3 separate regions of the Homo sapiens genome follow, and regions 1 and 3 are each linked to region 2. Evidence: promoter capture Hi-C in 16 types of primary human blood cells and fetal thymus (Javierre and others, 2016). All regions are on one chromosome and are shown on one strand. Each heading gives the region's core, a stretch centred on a gene start or on the middle of the fragment in contact. The rest is flanking DNA. Distances are from core to core; before and after follow the strand shown.

The links. The method cuts DNA at HindIII sites, captures the fragments that hold promoters and counts their contacts. A CHiCAGO score of 5 or more calls a contact.
Region 1: a fragment that was not itself captured here is called in contact with the fragment with the promoter of LCORL in region 2 in 1 of 17 cell types (non-activated CD4 T cells); the score reaches 8.4 in non-activated CD4 T cells.
Region 3: a contact is called between a fragment that was not itself captured here and the fragment with the promoter of LCORL in region 2, in 3 of 17 cell types (non-activated CD4 T cells, total CD4 T cells and activated CD4 T cells). The highest score is 8.8, in non-activated CD4 T cells.

Annotation. Positions count from the first base shown.
Region 1 is chr4:13,632,419-13,636,221 of GRCh38, forward strand. It overlaps the pseudogene LOC100288683. Among named protein-coding and RNA genes, the nearest start is that of MIR5091, 6.5 kb to the left of the region's middle. The HindIII fragment of the contact is 1,837 bases long and covers 777-2,613 here.
Region 2 is chr4:18,019,971-18,024,265 of GRCh38, forward strand. LCORL (ligand dependent nuclear receptor corepressor like) reads right to left here and starts at 1,785. Exons shown (of 8, transcript NM_001394446.1): 1 at 1,628-1,785. The coding sequence starts at 1,781. RefSeq lists silencers at 997-1,326, 1,647-2,106 and an enhancer at 2,157-2,416. The HindIII fragment of the contact is 12,000 bases long and covers 1-4,047 here.
Region 3 is chr4:14,992,994-14,997,243 of GRCh38, forward strand. CPEB2-DT (CPEB2 divergent transcript) reads right to left here. Exons shown (of 8, transcript NR_038857.1): 4 at 2,261-2,357. Among named protein-coding and RNA genes, the nearest start is that of CPEB2-DT, 6.9 kb to the right of the region's middle. The HindIII fragment of the contact is 924 bases long and covers 1,978-2,901 here.

The sequences.
Region 1 (3,803 bases), core at 445-2,944, 4.4 Mb before region 2:
CAGGCAATCCGCCCACCTCGGCCTCCCAAAGTGCTAGAATTACAGGTGTGAGCCACCAAGCCTGGCCTCACCTTTCTTATAGATTCATATATACATGGCCAAAGGAACAACTCCATGTTTTCTAAAAGGCCTAGAGGACATCTGTCGGGTGCCTCTCCTCTTTCCCTTTGTGTTCGTCATTTTGGCGAATTACTGGAAGACAGCGGTTCCGGCTGAAAGGAAAAGAGTATATAATTTCTAGCAGTAGTTAGGGCATAGAAGAGGTGAGATCTTCACAAAAGAAACTGCCATCATTCTCCTACTCTATGCCTGTCTGAGTTCAGAACATTCCAACAAAGGTCAGGTACTTTCTCCCTTAACAGGATTGACTCTCATTCTGTTCCCCAAGTCTGATGTCAAGGTGACAGAGTTTATAGTTTGCGAATTAGGGAAGCAACAATAGGTGATGATGGCCCCTGTTACTGGTAGCCATGTGCATGGTTAGGCACCAGATTCCTGACAAATGGTTTTTGTCAGGAATTTCTTTTCCTTTCTACAGTCCAGCCTGTCCCCCACCCCTACCCAATCCTCCAGACTGCTTCTGTGAGCTTGTCCAGTGAAAGTCAAACATTGATCTCCTAACACCAGGGATCCCATCTGATTATTCGTCAGAGTTGTTTCCTTATTTTCTTCCCCTTGTACCCCCATGGGATCCCCACTCTTTGGCATCTCCATTCCCGACTAGGCTTTTCATAATCAAAGGGAAATCAATATTTCCTAAATCTCCATCAACCCAAAGCTTAGTAGAAACTTTGAAAGTTCGTTTTTCAGTGATAACGGAAAACATCGGAGGAGGGGGAGAGGACATGTGTTAATATTATTTGTCTTTCCAATGCAAGCTGCATGGTCACACATATTCTATTTTTGTTGCAGTATAGTAGTGCCCTGTTATCCATGGGGGATATGTTCCAAGACCCCTAGAGGATGCTTGAAACCATGGAGGAACAAACTATACCATGGGCTGGGCTCAGTGGCTCACACCTGTAATCCCAGCACTTTGGGAGGGTGAGGCAGGTGGATCACCTGAAGGCAGGAGTTCAAGACCAGCCTGGGCAACATGGTGAAACTCCATCTCTACTAAAAATACAAAGTTAACCGGGTATGGTGTCACGTGCCTATAATCCCAGCTACTTGGGAGGCTAAGGCAGGAGAATTGCTTGAATCCGGAAGCCGGCGGTTGCAGTGAGCTGAGATCGTGCCACTGCACTCCAGCCTGGGTGATAGAGTCAGACTCCATCTCAAAAACAAAAACAACAACAAAAACCCCAAAAGTCTATACTGTGTATATTATATTTTTTTCTGATCTGATAACCAAGATGGCTGCTAAGTGACTTAACAGGCAGCTAACATACACAGAGTGGATATGCTGGACAAAGGGATGGCATGGTATGGTGCAAGATTTCAGCATGTTTGTCAGAATGGTGCAACACTTAAAATGTATTCATTGTTTCTGGAATTTTCCATTTAATATTTTCAGACCACAGTTGACCATGAGTAACTGAAACTGCAGAAAGCAAAACCTCAAATAAGGCAGGACTACCATGATGGTGGGGCTGCAGAGTGTTATACAATGTTAATGTGAAAAGCGGGTACTGATTTTTCCCTTGAAAGAATTGTCACTTGCCCTAGGGTCAGGGCATGGAAGTGGAGTGGTACAGGGGGACAGTAAGGCAGAGAGGACGAAGGGTGATTCTGGGACATTTGGCATAGACTGGAAACTTCAGCTCCCTGCCAGTCTGGGAGTGTTGTAGGGTAGGGGTGCTTTGGAAATGGTGGCTTTGTGAGAATATATTACCTTGAGGAGCTGCAGAATTCAAGAGAGTGGCCAAGTTCTAGTTGGTGGGAAAAAGGAGGATGTGTCTGGGGCAGCAAGACAGGAGTAATGTCAACTGAGACGAGGATTGGGATACATAAGCCCCTGGGATATTGGAGTAGGAACTTCAGAAGAGGAGGGAAATAGAGTGGTGGGGGGTATTTGGTGAAGTTGGACCTATCAGTCACATTAGTTATTAATACTTTATGGGATGGGAGATTCCTCTGTGGGTAATCTGGAAGACTAATAGTGGTTCTCAAATTTTAGCCTACACCAAAATCTCCTAGAGGACTTGTTAAAATAGAGTACTAGGCACGCCATCCTGAGTCCCTGATTTGATAGGTCTGGGACAGAGCCTGAGAGTTTCCATTGTTAACAAATGCATTTAACAAATGCTGATAGAACACTATATGAGAAACACTGGACTAGACAAATCACGGCCCACAGGCCTAATCCAGTCTACCTGTTTTTATAAACAAAGTTTTACTGAAACCGTACTTTCTAGTTTGAACATTTTTTTTTGTAAGATGATACTCCTTTTATGCAAGTACCATTAATTTTTATACATTTCTTTGCTCATAAGGTTTAAACTCCTGGTAGTGATAGCAATCAGATTTATAAAAGTAAGATTTATTATGAAGTTAGGTAGCCTGTGCCTATTAATGCTACTGAATTGCTGGCTATTTTGAAAATTGAGATGTCAATATTGCAGATGGCTTGAAATGCAAGGTATCTTTTATATGCTTATAAAGATGGAAAGAAGCTTTGCATTTAGCATTTTCCATTTAGGCTTTGTGAAAATTGTTCTTATTTTAAAAATAGCCCTAACATGTGTGTGTCTGTGTGTGTGTGTGTTTCCTGAGTATTCTAGATGGTACATGGTATTCTGAAAACTGAAAGTCACACCTCCAGGAATAAAATTAGGAAAAGCAGAAATTGGAGGGAGGTCTCTAGAAATGATGTAGTATTATCTGAATACCTCAAATCTAATCCAGGTCATCTGGGTAGAAATTCTGGGAGGGATTTATTTAAATATAAATAAAAATTTGTATACCTAAATAAAGATTGTATTCTACATTTGAAGAAAGAGTTGTTTTTTTTTTTGTTTTGTTTTGTGTTTTAAGAGTAAGAGGTGGTTGGCATGCATGTATGAAAGGAAGGAATTCAAAGTGTCTAGAATTGGCACTGTCTCTGGAGAGCATGCATTTGCTATTGGGTGCCAGCCATTAAGATGATCTCATTCATTTCTCCTCTGATTCTGTGATTGTTAAGTAACTTTTGGATCACATTTGGCTTCACATTTGGATTTGCCTATAGGAAGAAAAAGTGCTGAGTAGTAAATATAGGAAGCTGTCTACTTGGTAGTTATATCTCTCCCCATGAATGATTTTTATGCATAAAACCCTAAGAGCTTGGCGAATTTTGAAACCACCCAGGATTCAGATCTATTCTTTTTGTACTGATAGTCACCTCTTACCTTGCAAGACTGCAGGCTGGACCCCACACTATGGTCAACAAATTGAAGTGTTGCTGTGGGGGTCCAGTCAGGGTGACCAGCTTACCTAACATCTAATTTTATTGGCCATATTTTAAATATAAGTTGTCTTGATTACCACTTAAATTGTAGAGAACGAGTAGACTACTAGTAAACTAGGAAAAGAAAGTTTTTCTTGTAGAAAACTAGGAAAAGACAAAGAAGTCTATTGACAACAGGGAATAGGCTGGAGATGAGGACCTGACCCAAGATGGACAAATTAGAACCCTTCCTTGGGATTTTTGAAGGTAATTGGTATCCCTCTCAGCTACATTGTAAGCAGGTGTCTGGAGTCGGTAATAACCAGATCCTCTGTCATGTGTATCAAGCCAATCTGCCAAGAAAAAAAAAATCCACTAATCCACAGAGTGAAGCACAGATGAGGATGGACAACGAACACCCTGCCTGTGGTCCACA
Region 2 (4,295 bases), core at 535-3,034:
TTCATAAACTAAAATCACTTACGAATACTTGACTAAAGCTATTTCTCATCATCTTTCCTTAGAGAAGACCAAAATACATTTTTCGTAAGGGCAAAACAAAAGCAGTAAATTACTTAAACATCACTTAAATGCCCCCTAAAGTAACCTTCCTTTCTCATACATTTTCCTATATTCATCGCGTTCTGCGGTACACATTTCTGAACTGAAATTGTATTAAGTTTAACCTAATACGATCTCTTCTCTACTAGTCAAAAAAAGATCTTAAGACGTTAACCAAATACATGGGAGGCGGGGTCGGGGGTGCGAGGTGGTGCCAGAGCAGATGGAAACAAGGTAAGAGAGTTGTTTTCTTAAGACACTAGGGTTACTCCCCAACTCCAAATGCCAAGATTCACTCGCCAGTAGAGCAAGCTGCTGCCACTATCCACTGCTTACACAATACAACCTTCCTTTCTACCTCTTCCCCTACACTCCCACCCATAACCCCCTTCCAAAACAAACACCCACAACGCGCCCCATTCCATAATCCGTGTTCGCCCCTCTAAGCCCACTAAACCAACCTGCTGGATAACAGCTCTATGCATTCGTCTTAGGCAAAAAAAGAAAAAAAAAAAAGCGACTGCAGCAAGGTCGGGAGTCCCACCATTCCTGTCACCCTAAACAATCCACAGGGTGAGAGCCCCAAGCCCAGAAGTTTGAGGCAAAACGATTCAGATCCAACCAAAAAGAGGGAATTGCAGTTGAATGGGGATGGGAGGTGGGGAGGGCGATGCGTATGCGTGTATATGTGTGTGTGTGTGTAAGGAAGAGTCCATCACATGACAGTGAAAGAGGACCAGAGTCGTCGGGGCGTCCGCAAGCAGACGGGGGGGAGGGTGTCGTTGCCGTGGCAACACCCCCCATCCGTCCAGACTTCCAAAGAGGGAGGAAGAACTTCAAATCCCAACCGTCAGCGCTCAAGCGGCTCCTTCTTAAAGGGGTACACACAGCGCCGCCGCCGAGCGCGAGAGGGCAGAGTTGGGCGCCCCCCGCCCCTCGGACGACGCCCCCGCCGCCCCTCGCCCCCAGCCGGCCCATCAGCGGCCCCCGCCCTGCGAGTGCCCGTGGGTCTCCAGGTCCAGGTCCCCGGGAACTGGCCGCGTCTGCTCACCCGGCCCCCGGCGGCGACAAGGGGGTGTGTGTGCGCTCGGCGGGGGCGCGGACCAGCCCGCCTTCCTCCGGCCGCCCTGCCCGCCGGCTCTCCTCCGCCAGGGCGCCGACCCACCGGGCCGCTTCCTCCGTCCTGTCAGGGTGGACGGCGGGCGACGGCGGGCAGCGACGGGCGCCGAGGAGTTTCGGGGAGAGAGCGAGCGGGCGGCTTCCGCGGGGGCTCAGCAAGCGGGTCCAAACTAACAGTTCCCGGGGAGCCCAAGAGCTGGGAAGGCGAAGGAGCGCGGACCGCGCCGGGCCAGCAGCCCGCAAGACAAAAGGCGAGCGCCGGGGCCGCCGCGCCGCGCCGCTCCCATCTCGCTCCCCCACCGAACTAACCCGAACGGGAGATTCAACTAAACCCCTCAGCCACAAACTCCTCGGGCTGCGACAGCGGTCGCCGCGCGGAGCCCGGGGCCCCGGCCCGCGTCTCTCTTACCTACACAGTGCATGAGGCGGTGGCGCCAAGAGTCGAGTTCCCGCCGGAATCCTCTTCTCTCCGCCGCGCACCGAGGGCTCCGGCACTGAGCGGCGGCGGCGGCGGCGGCAGCAGCGGCGGCGGCAGCGGCCATTCTCTCTCTTCCCTTGTCCATCTGCGTCCCGCGTCACGCGCCCTCATTTACATACGAGCAGCGCAGGCACGAGGCAGGGGCGCGAGCCCTCGGCGCGAGCCCCGGAGCGCGCGCCCCCCGGAGGGGGGTTGATTGACACGTGTCACTACCTTCCCTCTGCCCTGCCCTCCCCCTCCCACCGCTCCCTCAGGGAGAGGCGGGGAGGGAGCCAGAGGAGAAGGAAGCAACCTGCCGCTTCCGCTGACCCCGCCTCCCCACCCACTACCCTCCTCCCCCTCCCGCTGGAGTTTACTCAGGCGAGCCATACCGCTCCCGCCGCCCGCGAAAACCCTGAGCGGGAGCGAGAGACCCGGAGCCCAGCCAGGAACCGGCGTGCTAGTGGAGCGGACTAGCAACGCCTACTTTCTGCCTTCACTACGGGACTCCGACAGTCCGGAGACTTCACTTCCCAGGCTCCATTTCGCCAGGATCCCGAAGCTGAACTTGGCGCCGTGGCGCGTTGCTTGCCGGTCATTGTAGTCCAGAAGAAAGGATTTTTTTTGTTTGTTTGTTTTTCTTCCCCCCCGCACTTGGGTATGCAGGCTGGCCTGCAACTTCTCTGCGCCGCGCCGCTGGGGGGCTGAGTCTGTCGCTCCCTGCGCCCGGAACCATGCGCTGCCCGGTGGCCGGGTCTGACCCGACTGCTTTAGCTTCCTTAGGCTCCGCGATAGAAGGGTGGTGGAAGCCGCAAGAGTTGTCGGCTCCTTGTGGGTTCAGGCTGCGCTTTGCGTTTTAAGTGCTGGAAACTTTCCGGGGTCGCTGTCTTCCTGTCACTCCGCAGGGAAAGGGCAAGCCGGTCATTCGGCTACATCTGGAATAACTGCCAAACGTCCAGAGAGAGATCCCGGAGTGACTTCGGTATTCAAGGCGAAGAGATCTCGGAAAGCCAGAATATTTGCAAGGACTAGGAAAAAGATGCGGGTTTTTTTCACTGAAAATTACTTGCAGGGGACTGGGTGTAGCCGGCTGAAAACTGCAGAAGGAAAATTTTCTTTATAAGCTCCTGGAGGGCAGCGACCCACTGAGATCTCTGTACCGTGACATCTGTCACTCGCTAGACCCTAGTACAGTGCGTGACACGGGATTAAGCACTTTACAAAGGTTAATGGAATGAATTCTACCACGTGCTAGAGAAAATAACTTCTTCAGAGAGAGCTAGAGAGGAATCTTACGTTTAAATACAGACTCCAATCACAGTTTTTACTTTTGCACCAGAGCGATTGTGCGTTTGTTTCCGTATAAGTGCAGTTTATCAAGCCGAAGCTAAGCTACCCAACGTTTGCTAAGAAGTACTGTGTATTTCTGGAAATTTATTCACAAGTCTGTGGGAAATATGTTTAATTCTTCTTGGAAATCTCATAAACTCTGAATTCAGTACCACCTTCCCTGTTTTGTGGCTTATCCTTATCCACCTTCTTTTTCTTCCTATGAGAAAGTATTTCTTTGCTCATTATGACTTCAGTAGTGAAGATGTAATTTTGCATCTTCATAAGTTAAAAATAATAAAGTTTGAACGCATAATCACCTTTTCTAGAACGGTCACAATTGGAGTGCAGGTGAAATCACTAGTGAAGGTGATTTTGGAATTGTCAGTGGATGGTTTTAGTTAACCACTTCCACTCACAATTGCCACGATGATCAGCCTTTGCAGTTTTCCTGATCACTTTTATAGTAATCTACATTAGTTAGGATGGGAAAAATTATGGTGCAGTAATAAATGATCCAAGAATCTTAGTGGCTTAAAACAACAACAAAAAACTATTTCCTGATTATCTACATGTTCATCTCTGGGTGGCAGGAGGAGGGGGCTTCATTCCATGTGGTCTCACTAAGCAACTGGATCCTTAAAGAGGCTGGAATCTCTGCAACGTCCCCCCTTGGGTGATAGGCAAAAGGAAGATGAAGAATGGCGAACTGGTTCTTCCTAAAAGTGATACAAGTCAGTTCTCACATTTCATTGACCAAAGCGAATTATTCGGGCGTATCTATCTTAAAGGGAGCAGGGAAGTGCGATCCTATTATATGTGCAAAAAGAAGATAACCAGAATTTATTGGTAAATAGTATCAAGGATTACTGTGATCTATCCTTCTGGTCACCAGTTTACAGTTCACTTTCTTCACACTACAAAATAGATTTACTCCTATCACAAAGTGAGACAATCCAAAAGTTCTGTTCAGTAAAGGCATTAATCTCAAAGTCTGGCATCTCTGGGTGATGGTTGGTAGTCTCCATATTGGAACTGGATAAAGCTTCTCTTGTTATAGACAACTAAAAAGATAAGGTATTCTCCCCAGATCTCTCTCACTCGCGATCTCTCTTCTCTCTCTCTCTCTCTCTCACACACACACACACACAGACACACACGCACAGTGATGGAATAGGGACTAAATAGACATGGTGTCTTAGTCTATTTTGTGCTGCTGTAATGGAATACCGCTGACTGGGTAATTTATATGAAGAGCAGACATTTATTGCTCATGGTTCTAGGGCCTAGA
Region 3 (4,250 bases), core at 1,190-3,689, 3.0 Mb before region 2:
GTCCCTGTGACCCTGTTTTACTCAGGTACTTGCTGAGCAGTGGCCCACTCTTTGTCTTTGCTTCTAGCACTAGCCTGAGGGCCAACTAATGAAGCAAGAGACTGAGAAATGAGGAGATGGGGGCATTAATCTCAGTCTATGCAAACCATCTCAAGCAAACGACTTTACCTCTGGGCTTTGGTTTTCCAACAACAAAACAAAAATATTATTCGCTTTATCTACTCACAAAGTATATTGTGACAAGAAAAGGAAATAATAGAAGTCCCATTTCAAGCCAGGATTGAGATGAGCTTCAGTGTGTAATTTTTTCTGCCTTCTTGCTAGATTTGCCTTACCTCAATATTCTGTATAGATCACAAGGCTCCACCGATGACCAGCCCGGCAAGGTCATATTGCAGCAAGTAGGATTCCAATTTAGTAGGTCAGTTTCAGCCTACAGTCTCACTGTTTATGACTCTGCCCAGATAATTAGGGTTGGGAATTATCATAACTAATGTCAACAGTATTTATTTACAGCCTCTGTGAGGATGTACAGAATAATGGATATATTTTCTGTTCTTTTCACAGTTATACCCATAGTGCCTTGCACAGTGTCTGGTACAGAGCAGGCACTCAACAGAGAGTTTCTGAATACATAAATCAATCAATAAGAACTAGGAAAATTAAAGAACATATAAGGCATAGCAACTGCCTACAAAGACTTGTAATTCAATCGAGTTCACATGGCCTTAAAGATACAAGATAAGTAGCAATAGAGAAGTCAGTCAGTCTACGTAAGGGCCCAGTGAGCATCGTGGCAGAAATTACTGGAGAGGCTGACAGGTTCTCTCCTAGGTGGGGGTATTGGAGTGGGATGATAAATCCCCTGGATGCCACAAAGGGTAACACAGACCTTCTATTATGTTTCGGGGCTACACTTTGTCATCAGGGGAAGATTCTTGATATTTTTCTTTGTCAATGAGTTCATCTTTGTATGGCATAATAACCAGAATAGAGATCGTAATAACCAGAGTGAAACTTTTAGTTTGGTATTGTCAAGGAAAAAATATTGGGAAGGAAAATAACTTTTTTGTCATTGTTATTATGATTATTCATTTTATTTTTTCTCCAGTAAACATAAGGTAACAATGCTACAGTTATCCACAAAATGGCTCATGTCTTTGTAAAGCATGCTTTGGAAACATCTACCTCTTTCCTTCCTTCCATCTCCCTCCTTCCTTTCCTTACCTTGTTTTCTCCTTTTCTTCATCTTTTCTTCTTACAGCATTCATTGGGCAATTACTAATCAACAAATACTTATTGGGCACTTGTGTTCCAGGAATGTGAAAGGCAAGGGAATGCGGAGATACATGAAGGAATTACATTTGAGTAACGTTTCTGCAGTATAATTGACAGAGCATGGTTGACAATTGTTTTTGGAGGGTGAGAGAGATGAAGGAAGAGGATGACTCATGTTTCAGCTTGAGAAACTGGTTGTGTGATGATGACGTCAGCCAAGACAAGAAGCAAAATAGGAGAAGCAGATTTTGGGGAAGATGTTGAATGCAGGTATAGACACATTGAATTGATGTGGCTGAAGGACACCCAGGTCAAACTGTTAAACAGGCAGTTGGAAATATGATTTTGACCATGAGGCTAAAGAGATGGATTTGGAAGACATTAGCATTTAGATGATGTTTGAAAACATGATAATAAATTCATCTAGAAAAAGTAGGTAGAAATATAGAAAAGGACCAGAAACATAAGCCTAAGGAACTCTCACACGTAAAGAATATGTAAGGAGAAAGTGAAGGAGGAAATTATGAAGGAAGGTTTAGAAAAGTAGGAGAACTAGAAGTAATTGAGGATGGTACTACTCTTGAGTGCCACATCAATAAAGCACCTTGAAGTTGGTCAAGGTCAGAATGAATCTTAATTTCTACTTTCTCCTTTTCCAACTCCAAACCAGAGCTAATTAGCTCCCATCTAAAGACTCAAAGCTTTCCCATTCTGTGGGGTTAATTACATTTATGGGCATGGGCTCTGCCACAGAAAGAAACCAGCAGCATGGAAGTAAGGCATCCAGTTGACCTTAACTGCAGTGCCTCCTGAACTGGTTCCATTTCTATGAGATGGGGTCTTGACTCCTCTCTTTGTTCAAGCTCCTGTAATGAACCCCTGTGTTCCTGGAGTCCCAACTCTAGTCTCCTGAGACAGAAGTTTTCCCCCTTGTACTCCAGGGTTATCTATTCCCCAGCGTTATAGTCTTGGGATGACTTACCTGTCTTCATGTACTTATCCTATATCTGACAATGCCTGGAATTATTTTTGGCTAGTTTAAGAATCCTAGGAGCATCTGCATGGTGTTTGGACAGCTCCTGAAAACAAATTAACCATTTATAAACAGACCCTTGTATTACTATTGTATTCTTTTAGCTATCATTTCCTAAAATTGCTATTTATTAATTCAACAACCCCTTTAATAAGTGCATGCAATTCCCAACTCTTGAAAGCCTACTATGTGCAAGGCATCGTTGTAAGTGCTGAGGATACAACAGTGAGCAAAACAGGCATGGACCTTTCCTCATGGGCTTGTGATCTCAGAGAGAGGACAGATAAACAGTTCAAGTACATAGTGGGTCAGATGGAAACACAAACACCTTATGAGGAATAAGAAGGCTGGGAAAGAGTGGCGGCGGGGGGTTGTCATTTTATTACAATGGTGGTCAGGGAAGACATCACTGAAAAATGACTTTTAGCAGAGACGTGAGAGAGACATGAAAAAAAATGATAAAAACATGATTAAGTGAGCCCTGTTGCTACTTAGGAGACAAGTATTCCAGGTGTGGGAATTGCGAGGGCAAAGGCCCTAAGGCTGAATTGGCCTGGGCTGTTACAGAAATAAGCATTCCACTGTAGGGAAGCTTTCAGAGGGGTTAGTGGTGGCAGGAGCGATTCTGAAGAACCTTTTGGTTATTAAAATGTTTTGACTTCTATTCTGAGAAAATGTAAGTATTTAGTCAGAGGAGTTGACATGACCTGTCTTCCACTTCAGAAGTATCATCCTGGCTGCTATGTTGGGAACAGACTGGAGAGGGGCAAGATCAGAAGCTGGAATACGAGTTAGTAGGTGAGAGCAACGATGTAGCCTGGTCCAGGCTGCTTGTGGTGAGAATGGGGTGAAGTGCTTGGATTCTGGATATATAGGCACTCCTCGCTTTATTGTGCTCTGCTATATTGTGCTTCTCAGATAATGGGTTTTTCACAAATTGAAGGTTGGTGGCAACCCTGCATCAAGCAAGTCTATCAGCACAATTTTCCCAACAGCATGGCTCAATTTGTATCTCTGTGTTACATTTTGGTAATTCTTGCGTTACTTAAAGCTTTGTCATTATTATTATATCTATTTTGGGGATCTGTGATCATAATATTTAATGTTACTAGTGTAACTGTTTTGGGACATCACAAACCACAACCATATAAGACAATAATTTAATCAATAAAGGCTTTGGGCTTCCCTATTCCCTGAGACAAAACAATATTGAAATTAGGCCAATTAATAACACTCTAACGACCTCTAAGTATTCAAGTGAAAGGAAGAGGTACATGTCTCTCACTTTAAATGAAAAGCTAGAAATAATTAGGCTTAGTGAGGAAGGTATGTGGAAAGCTGAAATAGGTTGAAAGCTAGGCCTCTTGCACCAAGTAGTTAGTCAAGTTCTGAATGCAAAGGAAAAGTTCTTGAAGGAAATTAAAAGTACTATTCCAGTGAACACGAGTGATAAGAAAGTGAAACAGCTTTATTGCTGATATAGAAAAAGTGTGAATGGTCTGGATAGAGAAAATTAAACCAGCCACAACATTCCCTTAAGCTGAAGCCTACTCCAGAGCAAGGCCCTAACTCTCTTCAATTCTGTGAAGGCTGAGAGAGGTGAGGAAGCTGCAGAAGAAAAAAGTTCAAAGCTCGCAGAGGTCGGTTCGTGTTTAAGGAAAGAAGCTGTCTTCGTAACATAAAAGTGCAAGGTAAAGCAGAAAGTGCTTATGGAGAAGCTGCAGCAAGTTATCTAGAAATCTAGCTAAGATAACTGATGAAGGTGGCTACACTAAATAAGTTTTCACGTAGAAAAAACAGCCTTCTATTGGAAGAAGGTATCATCTAGGACTTTCATAGCTGGAAAAGTCAATGCCTAGCTTCAAGCTTCAAAAGACAGACTCTTTTCTTAAGGGCTAATGTAGCTGGTGACCTTAACTTGAAGCCAATGCTCATTAAT